Linked DNA regions of Homo sapiens: all the other regions are linked to region 4. The links are contacts of gene promoters, found by promoter capture Hi-C in blood cells and fetal thymus (Javierre and others, 2016). All regions are on one chromosome and are shown on one strand. The core of a region is centred on a gene start or on the middle of the fragment in contact, and the rest is flanking DNA. Distances in the headings are between cores, read along the strand shown. Region 1 holds the start of CPEB4 (cytoplasmic polyadenylation element binding protein 4). Region 2 holds the start of RARS1 (arginyl-tRNA synthetase 1). Region 3 overlaps CPEB4 (cytoplasmic polyadenylation element binding protein 4). Region 4 holds the start of NPM1 (nucleophosmin 1).

Region 1 (3,637 bases), core at 1,071-3,570, 2.5 Mb after region 4:
ACTTTTTAGGAGTCCAGCACTTCACATGTATCCCATGTAATTTACAAACTTAGCAAGAGAGGAAATATCATTCACATTTTATCTAGAAGGAACCAAGGGCTTATAGAGGTGATGCCCAGTTTTGCACAGCTAGGAAGCAGCAGAGCTGGGATTCAAATTCAGGGCTGTTTGGTTCCAAAGGTGCTCTTTTTTCCAAGTCATGGCTGCCATTTTAGCCACTGATAATTAGTAGCTCTGAGGGACCCTAAACCATCTTCTGGGCATGGAACATTCATTTGTTCATTCAATAAATGTGTTCTGAGTTTTGAGTCTGCTCTGTGCCAGACCCTCTTCTGGCCACTGGGGACATAAAGATAAATCAGACACAACCTCTGCCCTTAAGAAACTAACCCACTGACAACCAGCAGTAATTAAAAGAGAGCAATCTACAAGACATTAGAGAGAGGGCCAGTCAAGGAAACCATTCTGGCGGAAAAGACACCTGACGGAACCAGCTAAGTTTCCAGGCATGTCCAGTTGTAGGGAATAAACAGCAGGTAAGACCCAATCTCTATGCTCAAAGAATCCATAGTAGAGTTACAGAGACAAGACTCATGCTCATGGCACAATGAAAGAGAATAAAATCACCGATTGAAGGCCCTCAGGTGTTCTACACGGAAGTGATGGAGGATTGACAGACTGAGGCAGAAGTTGAGACCATTAGAGGAAGGCTATGGAAATGAAATGGAAGCCACCTTTGTTCATACTATTTTTCATTAATCTTGGTATCTTTTTTTTCCCTCTAGTTGTGCCAGTTACTTCTGGCTCTACCCTGATTTCTTTGTTCATTTTTCTTCCTGCTAAAGGAAAATACTCACTTATTTAACATATTTAAAGCTGTGCTGAGAGCAAAGCATTATCCTAAGCCCTGATGGTGGTCATAGCGTTGGGAATGTACAAAGATAAACAGGACATTAAAGCCCTTGAGTACCAAACATAATGAAAAGTCTGATATGTGAGCTCCAAACCAAATGGCAAAAGGAAGGAAATAATTAATTCAGACTTGGAAACAGGAGTGAGGGGTGGGGGGTGGGTGACGGGTGGAAGGGGTGGCAGTGGGTTGGGGGGCTGTCACTCAGGGAAGACTTCATTGTTGCTGGTTTGTTCATTCACGTTTTCAGGATTCATTCACTGATGTCTCCTATCTACAATGTCTGCTCCTGAAAGAGCCCACGGTCCAGCACAGGTCTGGAAGACATAAACCATCACAATATAGTGTGAGAAACAAGCACGAGAGGTACACAGGGCCGTGGACGCTTATAAGAGAGAATTCAGAAGATGCTGTTGGTGGCTTTTGAACTGATTCCTAGAAATAAATAGGAATTTACCAAAGGAGAAGAGTGGAAAGGACATGTAAAAAGGCATTGAGAGTGTGTTTGGAGGGGGAAGAGGCACTAAGATATACCACCCATTAGGTAGAAAGGCTTGAATACCAGACTAACAAGTTTGGCCTTTATCTTCGAAATAATGGGCAACCATAGAAGAAATCGGAGCATGTGAGGGTCAAGATAAAATTTTAGTTTTGGAATTTTCCCTCTGGTATTGCGTGTAAGGTGTACTAGATCGGGATGATACGGGGGCATAGCCACAGACGCCTCAGCTGCATCTCTGCACCTGGGAGACTGCACCAGATGCGAGCCTAGCAGAATGGGAGAGTGGGAGGTGCGGGTGAGCGAATGGAAGGTTAAGGGAGAGTCCCTCGTGAGGTCTACATTCTGGGCAAGGGCAAACGCAGTTCTAGGCACCGCACAGCTGCTGGCAAGACCCGCCTCCCCTTCCAGATCCCTCTGGGGCGGAGCTCGGGCCAGAGCACGTGATGCTTGGAGCACCACCTTTACTGTGGGCACCCTTCTCATTCATCCGCGGTTTCACGGGCCGCCACTTCGATCTCCAACACCTTGACCGTATGCCTTCGTGAGCGAGGAATCCGTTCTCCTTGACACGTCCCTATTGCTCCTCCTGCAAAGCCCAGTTAGGGAAGAGAAATATCAAAGGAGTCCCTTGCCCACACAAAAGATGGCGACCTGCTGCGCTCACTCTGGGTGGGGGAAGCGGGTTCCAGGCGCCGGGCCTCACTAGGCGAGGCGCAGACGGAAGAGGCGTCTCTGGAGGTAACTTTTCGACCTTCCTGGGAGTAGCTCTGAAGCGAGGGGGCGTGGCCTCGCCTGAGTTCTAACAGATGATTGGTCTTCCGGCAGGTAGGTGGGGAATGAGTGCTACCCCCACCCCTCCCTCTTCGAACCGGAAGTGTCTCTGGGTCTTTCCAGCTGGTTGTCATTTCACTCGGCTCGGTCCTGAGGAGAAGGACTCAGCCGCGGCTGCGGGACCCGGGCACCGGGAGGCGGTGGCGGCGGCGGCGGCGGCAGCAGCGGCGACAGCAGAGGAGGAAGAGGAGGAAGAAGGAAAGAAAAAGAAGAACCAGGAGGAGTCCTCAACAACGACAGCGGGGACTGCGGGACCAGGGTAAAGCGGCGACGGCGGCGACGGCCCAGCAACCGTGAGGAGAAACAAAAGCCTTCTAAATTATAGTTTAAAAAAAAATTCTGGGGGAAAAGAGAGAGAAAGCCGAGGGGGGAGGCCCTTCTCCTTTAAAATAACTACGGTAGTGGGTTTTTCCTTTTTTTCCTCTTTTTTCCCTCTCTGCGGAGAATCGAACTGAGGGAACTGAACAAACCGCCCCTGGGTCCCATGAGGGAAAAAAACCCCGGAGCCGCAGAGAGGGGAAGAGGCAGAAACCGCAGGACCTTCCAGGTCGCCCCCTCGGTCCCCGCACCCCCAGGCCGCCCGCTCACCCTCGTCGAGTCTCGCTAATCCCTCCTGATCGCGACCCCCGCAAGAGGGAGAAACGGGTGTTTCCAACCCCTTTCATGGGGGAGAGGAAGCCGCGGGGAGCCCAGGAACAGCGACCGCAGCAAGATCTGCACCCGGAGCCTCAGGAACAGCCCCAGAGGCCAAAACTGCACCCTGCGAAAGAGCAGAAAACAGGACCAGGAACAGCAGAAACCTCCCTGCAATCATCTTTCCATTAGTCAATGCTGATTTCCTCTCCCGAAACCAGGAATTCACTTCCCACCCCAGATAACCTAATATAATCTATATATATAAATATATAATATATAATGTTCTTAAATTATTCCTGATTTTTTTTTAACCAAGCTGCCAAGAAAAGAACGTATTCCCCTCTTAGTCCTATTCTAATTTTTATGTGAGTGAATCTAAACTGCTGAGGAAAACCATATGTGATTGTTAAATTATATATATCTATATTTTTACTCCGCGCAAGGCTTATTCTTCTACATCCATAGATGCTTGAGAAGCTCTGTTTTTGTCATTCATGTACATTTTCCTTTGGAAAAAGAAAGCGCCTATTTTACTAACCAAAGACTTGATTTTTACCCTCTTCATTTTTATTCCCTCCTAAAAATAAGCCCAATTGGATCCAAGTCAATGTTTTAAGAGATTTTTTTAAGAGTTGTTTTTTCTTTCAGAGACCAGAATTCCAAATCAGAACAATTTAAGGTGATAAGCTGCGATCTTTGAGCTAGCTATAAATAAGACATTTCAAGCAAGCAAGCAAACAACTTAAATTTGGGGTAGA
Region 2 (3,820 bases), core at 1,024-3,523, 2.9 Mb before region 4:
CTTATTAGCCCTCTGAATTACTGGATTGAAAAAACATAGTATATATATAGGGCTTGGTACTATTCACGGTTTCAGGCATCCACTGAGGGGTGTTGCAATGTATCTCCCACGGATAAGGAAGGACTGGTATATTAACACTTTTATTTGATTTACAAAATAAAGGATAGTTTATATAGTTCTGGGTAAAATTAATTAATTAATTTAAAAGGAAAAAAGATAAAGGCAAACTTTAAGCTTGTTAAAAATTAAGTAAAATAATTTGGATTATTTAATTGGACAAAGAGGACTGGCTTTGCCAATGAAACAATATGGCCGACATGTTCCATAAATTGGACAAGCTAAACTTGCAAATCCACAGTTTTGACGAAAATATAGTGAGAGCACTTATGAAACATCATGCCAGAAAATAATCCATTCCCAGAAGTTGTGAAAAGAGTTTTTAGATGTCTTTTTTTTTTTTTTTTTTTTTTTTTTGAGACAGAGTCTCACTCCGTTGCCCAGGCTGGAGTGCAGTGGCCAGATCATGGCTCACTGCAACCTCAAACTCTTGGGTTTAAACAATCCTGCCTCCTAAGTCTCCTATATAGCTGGGACTACAGGTGCACACCACCATGCCTGGCTAATGTTTTGTATTTTTGGTAGAGACGATGTTTCACCATTTTTTCCAGGCTGGTCTTGGACTCCTGGGCTCAAGAAATCTGCCTGCCTCAGCCTCCCAAAGTGCTAGGATTACAGACATGAGCCACTGTGCCTAGCTCGATGTCAACTTTTAAAAGTATACACTGGGATATGAATTTTTAAAATACTTTTATGAGGCACGGAAGCGAAAACGTTTAGAGTGCTACTTTCTAAGTTCTGGAGTCATAGAGAAGAGTGAACAAGATAATTAAGGTCCCTGCCCTCTTAGAACATATATCCCAGGTTTGCTGTTTATAATTTTAACTCAATATATATACAATGAAATATTATTCAGCCTTATAAAAGAAAACCCTGTTATGGGTGACAACATAGATGAACCTGGAGAACATTATGTTGGTGCAATAAGCCGGGCACAGAAAGACAAATACTACATTAGCCCATGTATATGTGTAATCTAAAAAATTCAGATTCATAGAAGCAGAGCATAGAATGGTGGTTGTCAGGGCTTCAGAGGTAGGAAAGATGGGAGATGTTGCTCAAAGTTACAAAGTTTCAGTTAGGCGGGATGAATAGATTCTAGAGATGTAATGTATATTGTATACTTGCAGTTTTCGTTTTCGTTTCGTTTTGTTTGTTTTTAAATAGAGAGAGAAAAGGTCTCACTCTGTCATCCAGGCAGAGTACAGTGGCATGATCATGGCTCACCGCAGCCTCAAATTCTTGGGCTCAAGTGATCCTCCCACCTCAGCCTCCTATATACCAGGGACTACAGGCACATGCCACCATGCCCGGCTATTTTTCCATTTTTTTGTAGAGACGAGGTCTTAGCTGTTTCCCAGGATGAGAATAGATCTTAAATGTTCACAGCACACACGCGCGCGCGCGCGCGCGCACACACACACACACACACACATGCAAATGATAACTGTATGAGATGAAGGTTATGTTAATTATTTTGGTTGTGGTAATCATTTCAGAATGTATACATATATCAAAACATTACGTTGTACATCGTTATGATATACAATCTTTGTCAATTATACCTCAATAAAACTGGAAAAATAAATAAGATTTTAACTCAAATGTCACTTGCTTAGAGATGTCTTCTCTCACCCAAGTCACTCTATCACATTGCCTTCCTAGCAATTAAAACTACCTGAGATTATTGCCTTTTTTGGTCTATTTTCTCTCTCCATTCTAAAATGTGTCTGCCGTGAGAGGGGAGATCGTGTCTGTTTTGTTTTCTTTGTGCCCCCAGAGCCTAGAATACTGTCTGGCATTTTAAAGTACACAATAAATGTTTGTTGAATAAATGAATGGATTTGTTAGTTTTGTGCCCATTTCACAAAGGGGCAAAGTGAGGCCTTTGAGAGCCAGAAGCTCTAGGTCAGTGACTGTCCTAGTCTATCCAAGCACAGAGCAGCTCTGGTTAGTGTCTGCTCAATTCCTCTCCCCTCGCCCAAACGTCCCTGAGTTGCGGCCTCGCTCCTGACCGAAATCCCCGCGGGTTCTCCTCGCAGTGTCTACTGGATCCCGCCAGGAGGCAGCAGAGGCGCCAGCACCCAGTCCGACGGGACAGCGGACCGGAGGGGGTTTCCGCTTCCGGGAGAGGCTGACCGTTTCCGCTTCCGTCCACTTGGCGAGTGAGACGCTGATGGGAGGATGGACGTACTGGTGTCTGAGTGCTCCGCGCGGCTGCTGCAGCAGGTTTGGACGCAGGAGACCGGCGGGAAGGCCTGAAAGAGATGGAGCAGGCTCTGACTCCTGCCCAAGCGGCTTCGGGGGCGGGACAGCTAGGCGAGGACCATCCTGGTCCTCTCAGAGTGGAGCGGCACGGTCCCTGTGGGAACAGGAAGGGTTGAGAGAGGAAGCACCCATCATTTCAAAGCCCGTGTGACTGTGATTTTCAGCGGAATGGAGGGTCCCCACCCTCTCCCAGGCCTCCCCCAAACCAGCGTCTTCGGTGGGCTGGAGCCTGGCATGTTCAGAACAGTTCTCTCCCTACAATCCACCTCCTCTTCTGCATACACACGCGATTTAGGGGATGCGGGGAGATAGACAAGGGGGGAATACATTCAGAGCTCTGGGTCTTGGTTTGCAGCTCAGCCGCAGTTCTTCCCGGGTTACTGAGCGAGAGGATTCCTAATAAGCCCATGGGGTGATTCATTATCAGACCAGCGGAGCTTGCTCTGTGCCCTCAGCATTCGTCGGGAAGGAGCAGCCACACCATATAAAAGTGAAAGCGGCCGGGCGCGGTGGCTCATGCCTGTAATCCCAGCACTTTGGGAGGCCGAGGTGGGCGGATCACGATGTCAGGAGATCGAGACCATCCTGGCTAACACAGTGAAACTCCGTCTCTACTGAAAATACAAAAAAACTTAACCGGCTGTGTTGGGGGGGGTCCCTGTATTCCTAGCTACTCGGGAGGCTGAGGCAGGAGAATGGCGTGAACCCGGGAGGCGGAGCTTGCAGTGAGCAGAGAGCACACCACTGCACCACAGCCTGGGCGACAGAGTGAGACTCCGTCCCCCTACAAAAAAAAAAAGTGAAAGCGGAACAGTTCCATTACCTTTTATGCCCAGGTGGGGAGGGATGGTAGGAAGATAGTTCACAGTACTCTGTCCTGTTACGGCTGTATACTTAATCAGCAGTCACAAAGTACAAGTTAGTCAAGTAAATTGGCAAGCTCTTTACATTTCTGAGCCATTTATTTATCGGTATGTATTTATCTTTGCCTCACTTGGTTGTGATAATCATGAAGGTAATTTCTGAAAAGTGTTTTTAGCTCAGCTCCTGGAACATAATGTATGCTCATTTTTGGCAATTTGGTTTTGGCTGTAGCTATCTCCCAGTAAGTATTCTGAAATTTCAGGTGAGGAACTCCCCCTGAGTTTTGCAGTTTAAGTTGGAAGCTTTATTTCTTTCTGAATTGACATGTCTTTAGTTTTAGATGTTAAACTACAAAGCCTGGTCTGGTCTAGTCTAGGACCTAAGACACTGGAAACAGGAAGAAATGGGAAAATTGTTTAGTCCCAGAAAGGGTGAAAGGCAGACCCTTGAGCTATTTTGAATGTGACAAAGGACATTTGGGTTTTTTAAGAGTCCCAGGTCATAGGATTTGGGAATAAAAGCAGGTTGGTCAACCTGAAACTTAACTACTCTTGCTAAATCAGAGTGTTTA
Region 3 (3,922 bases), core at 793-3,292, 2.5 Mb after region 4:
GCTTAGCTTGGACAAAAACTACACCTAGTTTTGCCGAGTTTTTTAGAGCTTAAAAAATTGCCATTAATCTCTGGTATCATAACATCCTCTTAAGGCAAGTTATCTTGTTGCTCTGTCCTCTAAATGTAGCATCTAGAGTCAGAAGGCTTCTGGCAAGGATAAAAATAGCCTTCCTGCTTGCTGGTTTGTTGTTAGCTTTACTGGCAGTAGGAAATCTTTTGAATTCCTTAATTGGGTCAGCTTCTTACTAGTTTCTCTCTGGACATTCCCTTCTGCCTGAAATTCTTAGATGCTTTTAGATCTTGCAGCTTCGCACCTGCCCCGAGTTGTAGTCAAAGCAGTCCTTCCCTTCTATGAAACCTTCCTCCATCTGTAGAAACATATTCCATTGACCTCTCCCATCTTACAGATAAGTGTTATTTTCTTTTGCCACTACTACAATCTGTTTTTCAATCATCATATTACAATTGAAACATTAAATTTGGGGTTTTGGTTCAAAATGAAGATCCTCTCTGGTTTTATTGAAAAGAAAAATTTTAGGTTGAATTTTTGAAGTTTTCATTAAAATTATTATGTATCTTTGCCAGTTTGGCTTTGATGAAAGTAAGGGGTTAGGTTTTGTTCTTTTCTCTCTTCCTGAGAAGACTTATATCCCTGTTTTTAACCAAGGACACTAGCAAATTCTCATTTTTCTGAAGCTGAAATATCCCCCAGATTTGCCCCTCCCTTTTCCAAGGTTCCAGTTTGGAACTTTTTGGCCAAAATAAATCCTACTTGTCCTTTCTCTTACAAGTGGAAAATTGTTGGTTATCTTCGGCTTATTACTGGGGAAGGGAAAGGAATTAATTTTGTTAAGTACCTACTGCATATTGAGGGATTTTTTTTGGCATTCTGCAAACATTATCTCAAGACTGTCTCACAACAGCTCTGTGAAGTCAATGGAATTATCTCTGTTTTCCTGAGGTTCAGCAAAGCTAAATAATTTGACTTAGGTCACAAGATGATACCGGCTTGACTCTACCCATTACACTGCATCTTCCATGGCAGAGAGATCATCAACTGCTGACTTTGCTTCATTCATTTTCCACAGTTGTTTATTGAGCACCTTTCTCTGCTCCAGGCTCTGGGGTAGCACACCCAAAATCCATAAAGATCTCATTGCCCTACAGCAAGAGATTAAAACAAGTAATGTAAATATGGTGTAATAAGTGTAAAGAATACTGGAAGGAGTACAGAGGGTTATCTGAATCAAAGCAAGGATGATGTGGGGCAGGGAAGGCTTCTCATAAGATGTGAGGCCTAGCAGGGGAACTGCTGGGACAAAAGTGTGGAGGCTTGAGTGGTAAGACATTGAGGGGCAGAGAGAGAGAGGAGGGCCTTCTAGGTAGAGGGAGTTACCCAGAAGTTGAAGTTATGGGCCAGCAGTTCTGAATGGCTGGAGTGCCTGATGTGGGAAGGGAAATGGCAGTGTGGAGAGTTAGGAAAGCCATTAATTCAAAGATTTTTGTAAGTACTGGCTTTTGAGCTGAAAGCCAAATTTGTAGCAGAGAAGGGTTTTGTTTAGCCTAAACTCTGTGTGTTTAGTGAATTTTAAGTGGCTCTTTGGGAGGGGACAAGACTCTTCAGCTGATATCTGTCTCAGCCAGTTCCTTCTTTGTGATTTTGCATGGGAATGTCTTTGTTGGAAGTTGGTTGTAGCACAGATAGATAAGGGGGTAGAATAAGCTTACTGATTTTGATTTGGGGAGTTATTTTTGTGTCAATACACTAAATTATTAAAAATTAAATTTATACCATTAAATTATAGAACATATTGAATGCTGTTTTGTTCATATTGCTATGTCTTCTGCATTTGTGTAAGTATATAAAGTTGGCATTCAAAACCAGTGGATTTATTACACATTTCTTGAGCTTTGCTGTCCGATGTCCAGGTCCCCACAGCGCCATCTTGCTGCAAGTCTCAAGTGGAGTTTGTAAAAACAGAAGATGTGCAGGGGTAGGAGGACTACCTCCTTTAAAATATTACTTATGACGGTATAGTTTTGATTTACTTAGATGTGAGCTAAACAAAATTAGCAGGAGCAGAGGTAGGAGCAGCACTTCTAGTTAGGCAATCAACAACTGCAAATGTATGTGTATGTATATATTTGTGTGCATTAGAAATTTTTAATGGTGCTCACTGAAGACTCCTCTGCAAACACCCTGCTTTTCTTTGGAGTATCCACATTTTTATAGGGTGAATCAATCAAAAGTTGATCCTTAAAAATTTTATGCTACTTGTCACTTTAGAGTTATTCCCTATTATCATTCCTTGGCCTGCACCATGTTGTCAACATTGTTGGCATGACTGTGAAAAAGAAAAGCTTATAGATAGCGTGAAATCTAATTGTGCTGCAGATACATTTGATACTTTTTGGTGTTTGTGTGTTTGAAATGGCAGCATTTATTTTTATTATTTCCTGTTGAATTATCAGTAGTAGTAATATCTGGATTATTCTTTAGAAAATAACTTATTTTACCTAATTAATGAAAGTAATACTTATATATACTGCTAATGTAAAGGAGGATTTCCTCTGGTCTTTTCTCCTTTTATTTTTTGACTTGGTTACTTTAGTTAGTGTCTTAAAAGGATATGATAGTACATACTGTTCTTTTTAGCACCTCCTGCCCCCACCTATTCTAAGTCAGTCTGTTGGTAAATATTGGTTCTTCCAACTGGCAAATGCTTAGCATAGAATTGCCTAGTTGACGTATGGATCTTTTCTAGGTTGTAGGATTTGGTAGTGTAGATCCCCAGAGTCACACTGTATCTGTTGCCTATATTTGGCTAGGTTGAGTCATGTCACCAAATATAGCCTATGCCTTCGGCATGATGTATGCCAGGCTTCTGGTTCCAAATTCTGCAGCTGGCCTCCAGAGACTACTGCTTTTCCTGTCATAATGTTCCTTAAGATTAGGGCTGCTGACCAGGCAGTATTTTTTATATTTATAACAAAATCAATACCAAGAGCCTTCAAAGATTGAATTTTGCTCATCAAATAGGTTCACATGCTGAAATCCTAATGCCTTCCTTCTCCCTTTAGAAATTAAATTCTGAATGTGCCCAAACCTGGATAATGATTAAAGATAGATGAGTTCTTGGCTGGGCACCGTGGCTCATGCCTGTAATCCCAGCACTGTGGGAGGCTGAGGTGGAGGCATCACCTGAGGTCAGGAGTTCGAGATCAGCCTGGCCAACATGGTGAAACTCTGTCTCTACAAAAATACAAAAAAAATTACCCGCGCATGATGGCGGGTGCCAGTAATCCCAGCTACTCGGGAGGCTGAGGTGGGAGAATCACTTGAACCTGGGAGGCGGAGGTTGCAGTGAGCCAAGATCGTGCCATTGCACTCCAGCCTGGGAGACAGAGCGAGACTCTGTCTGAAAAAATAAAATAAAAAAGATGAGTTCTCAAAAACCCAACCAGACAAAACAGCAGGCAGGTACTGGGTTATATTAATATTCAGACATCTCAATTTTTATTTTATTATACTTTACTTATGAAATACTGGTGTTTTGAGTTCAGTGGAATGAACTCATCAAATGCTCACCTGGTACCCAAACAGGACACTCAAGATGCCTAGGTATTAAAAGCTCTAATTCCGAAGGGGGCTTTAATGTAAAAGAGGTAAGAAGGTTAGCCAGAAGCTGAAATGATTAGGTAAGAAAGTTAGTTGTTGCTTTGTAGCTACAAATAAAATTTGGTGAGTTCATTAAAAAGATGTTTCCAGCCAGGCGCAGTGGCTCAAGCCTGTAATCCCAGCACTTCGGGAGGCCGAGGCAGGAGGATCACGAGGTCAGGAGTTGAAGACCAGCCTAGCCGGGTATGGTGAAACCCTGACTCTACTAAAAATACAAAAATTATCTGTGTGTGGTGGTGCT
Region 4 (3,491 bases), core at 725-3,224:
CTCTACTAAAAATACAAAAATTAGCTAGGCGTGGTGGGGGGCGCCTGTAATCCCAGCTACTTGGGAGGCTGAGGCAGGACAATCACTTGAACCCAGGAGGCAAAGGTCACAGTGAGCCAAGATCATAACACTGCACTCCAGCCTGTATGACAGAGCGGGACTTCGGTTTCAAAAAAAAAAAAAATTAAAATAAAAAATAAAACAGTGGCCGGGTGTGGTGACTCACGCCTGTAATCCCAGCACTTTGGGAGGCCAACATGGCGAAACCCTGTTTCTACTAAATATACAACAATTAGCTGGACGCGGTGGCAGGCACCTGTAATCCCAGCTACTTGGGAGGCTGAGGCACGAGAATTGCTGGAACTCAAGAGGCAGAACTCGTGAGTCAGAGATCTTGCCACTGCACTGCAGCCTGGGCAAGAGAGCGAGACCCCGTTTAAAAAAAAAAAAAATGCTGGCTGGGTGCGGTGGCTCACGCCTGAAATCCCAGCACTTTGGAAGGCAGAGACAGGCGGATCACCCGAGGTCAGGAGTTTGAGCCCAGCCTGGAGAACACAGCGAAACCCCATCCCTCCTAAAATACAAAAATTAGTCGGGCGTGGTGGCATGCACCTGTAGTCCTCGCTACTCGGGAGCCCGGGAGGCGGAGGTTGCATCCAGCGGAGATCACGCCACTGCACTCCAGCCTGGACAACACAGCGAGACTCTGTCTCCACACACACACAAAAAAAGGCATAACAAATTTAAGTGACTCAAAGCTTTATGTGACACAGGAGCTCTCAGAAAGGAACAGTTAAATTATAACATGTCCATATTATGCGTTAGTATGTGTCCACAACTAACCCATAATATGGACATGTTATAATTTAACTGTTCATTCCTCTCTTGATAGACACTGAAATCGTCTCTATAATTTTCCTGTAAGAAATAATGCCTTGGGGTGGGGGTGTCTTCCTTTCTGAGGCTATCATTTGTATTCCTCACTTCTTAAATTTGTTTGATATGTTGAGGCTTAAAAAAAAAAGATTACGGGTCTTCAGAACGCCCCAATGCCCGCGGGGTGCTGGGGTGCCTCGGAGTTTGTCAAGGTGTAGCTTAAAACGTTAATTCCCATGCTCGCTCCCAAATATTCGAATTAAGGCTTCTGTAGTTCTTACAAGTCACCCGCTTTCTTTCAGGAGGAATGTTAAAGATTAAGAGCGGCAAGAAGTCAGAGTCGGCCCACCCTCCGAGCTCTCTTAGGGCGATGTCCTTGCTAATTTGGAGACTGATTCAGTCCCCTTTTGGCCCCCAAGTTACGTAAAGATAAGGACTTTGGAGATGTTTTCTCAGGAAGGACAGAGCTGAAAAACAAAGTTCCGTAAGTCTGGCCGGTAACTACATCTTTCCTTCCTAACAAAGAATAAGCCGCAATTCACTCTCTCTGGCACCTGAACTTTGGGGTAACGATTAACTGCGATCCGAAGCCTTCAGGCAAGTAAAAAATTCCTGAAGTGATTACGCCTGTTTGGAGGCTTGCAGGGCACTAGGGGATGGGGAAAGGTGAATCGAGGTGCTCTCTGGCTCATTCGCAGCCGGCTAACCCGCCATATCTTACACAGCTAAGGGCTGCCGACGCCATTTTGCAGGGTGGGCTGCGCAGACTCTTGGCGGGAGGCCGGCGCGCTTGAGCGGGAGAGGACGTGGAAGGGTTGGAGGTGGGGAGTGCGCGTTACGACTGGAAAGCACGCGTGCGCACAGGCGACAGCAGCGGAGGGGTGGGGCCAGTGTACGAGTGCGCGTGCTCGGTGGGAGCCCGCGGAGTACCTGGAAGGAGGTGGGGGCGAGGTAGAAAGGAGTGGGGTTGAAAAGCGCTTGCGCAGGACGGCTACGGTACGGGGGTGGGAGGGCTTCGGAGCACGCGCGCGGAGGCGGGACTTGGGAAGCGCTCGCGAGATCTTCAGGGTCTATATATAAGCGCGGGGAGCCTGCGTCCTTTCCCTGGTGTGATTCCGTCCTGCGCGGTTGTTCTCTGGAGCAGCGTTCTTTTATCTCCGTCCGCCTTCTCTCCTACCTAAGTGCGTGCCGCCACCCGATGGAAGATTCGATGGACATGGACATGAGCCCCCTGAGGCCCCAGAACTATCTTTTCGGTAACTGCTGGGGGGAGCTGGAGCGAGGCCGAGCGGGGCCTGGTGGCGGTGAGGGTGGGGGTGAGGGGCGGGAATCCGGCTGCAACCGGGTCTGGTGGAGACCGCCAGACCGACGGGAGGCCTGAGCGGGTGGGAAGAGCTGCCTGAGCCCTGGACCTGGAGGGATTGGAGCCGCGGGGGGAGCCGGTGGCGTGAAGGGGGAGGAGACGAGCGGCCTGAAGCGTCTGGGGCGTGAGCGGTCCGAGGCCCGGGGCCTGAGGTAAAGTGGAACCGGCCGCCTGGAAGTTCGGCCTTTGCCGGGGATACGTGGCGGAGCTCCAGGCGTGGTTTATTTTCTAACGGCGGTGGTTCATAGGCTTCTGATGCCAGGCCCCGGGTTGGTGGTCCTGGAGGCTGGGTTCACCGGGAAGCATGGGCCTGCTTGTTGGAGCGGGTAGATGCACAGCCTGGCGTTATTCTGGCCTCAGAGCCTGGAGCTGCCGGACGTAGACTTACCTCGCGTGCTTCGGCCAGTTACTGGGGGTGGGGAGGCGCGGCGCGGCGTGAGGAGGCCGCAACCGCTGGGAGCACGTGGTTGCCACGTGGTTGGGGGAGGGAGGGGGGTGTGGGCGCTACATCCGGGACTCACCGGCGTGTTGCCACTCGTGAGCCAGGGATGCTGTGGCTCTGTTGAAGTGGGAAATGTTAAGAGGCTGGTAGCACTAGGGTTCTGGAGGTCTTTGTTCAGTGCTTACAGCATGTACTGTGATGGCAGCTCTCATTTTTTTGAGCCCCTTTTCTGTCTCACTGCGGTAGGTGGAGCTAGCCCCACTTTGCAGATGAGGATACTGGTGCCCAGAGATAAACTCACTTAACGAAGGTTGTACTTAGTAAAGGCAATAAGAGACTAAATCTAAACCAAGACGCTTGACTCCGTAGCTGCTGCTTCGTGAATATTAATGAGGCTTCGTTTTAGGGGGACGTCCTCGCATGCCGCCATTTGTGCGGCATTGACCAAACTGCTTTTCTAAATACAAGAAACACGTAGAGTGTTCGGTTTGAGTCAGATCAAGACCTAAGACTATTCGCAGAATTTTGGGAGCACCACCCCCCTCGACTTGCGGTAGTCCTGCCCCAAAAAGGAGAGTCCCACTTGGGTTTTTGATCTCAGTAGGATTAATTGCAGAAGCCTAATCTTTGTACTATTCAGACTTTGAAGTAAATGCAAATCCTACCGTGAATTTTATCTTGTTCATTATCCGTGCTGAGATTTGTTAATTAAACGTCTGTTCACATTTAAGCATGTATATGTATTGGTAACGGTTAGATGATAGTTAAATGGAATCATTTAAAATTTTTATTCTGACAGTGTTTTGAAGA

Evidence for each region. Contacts are between HindIII fragments. The CHiCAGO score rates a contact against its expected background, and 5 or more counts as called.
Region 1: the fragment with the promoter of CPEB4 here is called in contact with the fragment with the promoter of NPM1 in region 4 in 1 of 17 cell types (naive CD8 T cells); the score reaches 5.7 in naive CD8 T cells.
Region 2: a contact is called between the fragment with the promoter of RARS1 here and the fragment with the promoter of NPM1 in region 4, in 1 of 17 cell types (total B cells). The highest score is 5.3, in total B cells.
Region 3: a fragment that was not itself captured here is called in contact with the fragment with the promoter of NPM1 in region 4 in 1 of 17 cell types (non-activated CD4 T cells); the score reaches 5.1 in non-activated CD4 T cells.

The regions. Positions count from the first base shown.
Region 1 is chr5:173,886,029-173,889,665 of GRCh38, forward strand. It overlaps CPEB4 (cytoplasmic polyadenylation element binding protein 4), which reads left to right and starts at 2,321. Exons shown (of 10, transcript NM_030627.4): 1 at 2,321-3,637. RefSeq lists an enhancer at 1,828-2,067. The HindIII fragment of the contact is 9,803 bases long and covers 1-3,637 here.
Region 2 is chr5:168,484,198-168,488,017 of GRCh38, forward strand. It overlaps RARS1 (arginyl-tRNA synthetase 1), which reads left to right and starts at 2,274. Exons shown (of 15, transcript NM_002887.4): 1 at 2,274-2,346. The coding sequence starts at 2,302. The HindIII fragment of the contact is 3,317 bases long and covers 233-3,549 here.
Region 3 is chr5:173,923,727-173,927,648 of GRCh38, forward strand. All of the region lies in intron 2 of CPEB4 (cytoplasmic polyadenylation element binding protein 4), which reads left to right. Among named protein-coding and RNA genes, the nearest start is that of CPEB4, 37 kb to the left of the region's middle. The HindIII fragment of the contact is 638 bases long and covers 1,724-2,361 here.
Region 4 is chr5:171,385,875-171,389,365 of GRCh38, forward strand. NPM1 (nucleophosmin 1) reads left to right here and starts at 1,975. Exons shown (of 11, transcript NM_002520.7): 1 at 1,975-2,132. The coding sequence starts at 2,075. It overlaps MIR3912 (microRNA 3912), which reads right to left and starts at 886; the gene lies at 782-886. RefSeq lists silencers at 2,256-2,315, 2,636-2,695. The HindIII fragment of the contact is 7,200 bases long and covers 757-3,491 here.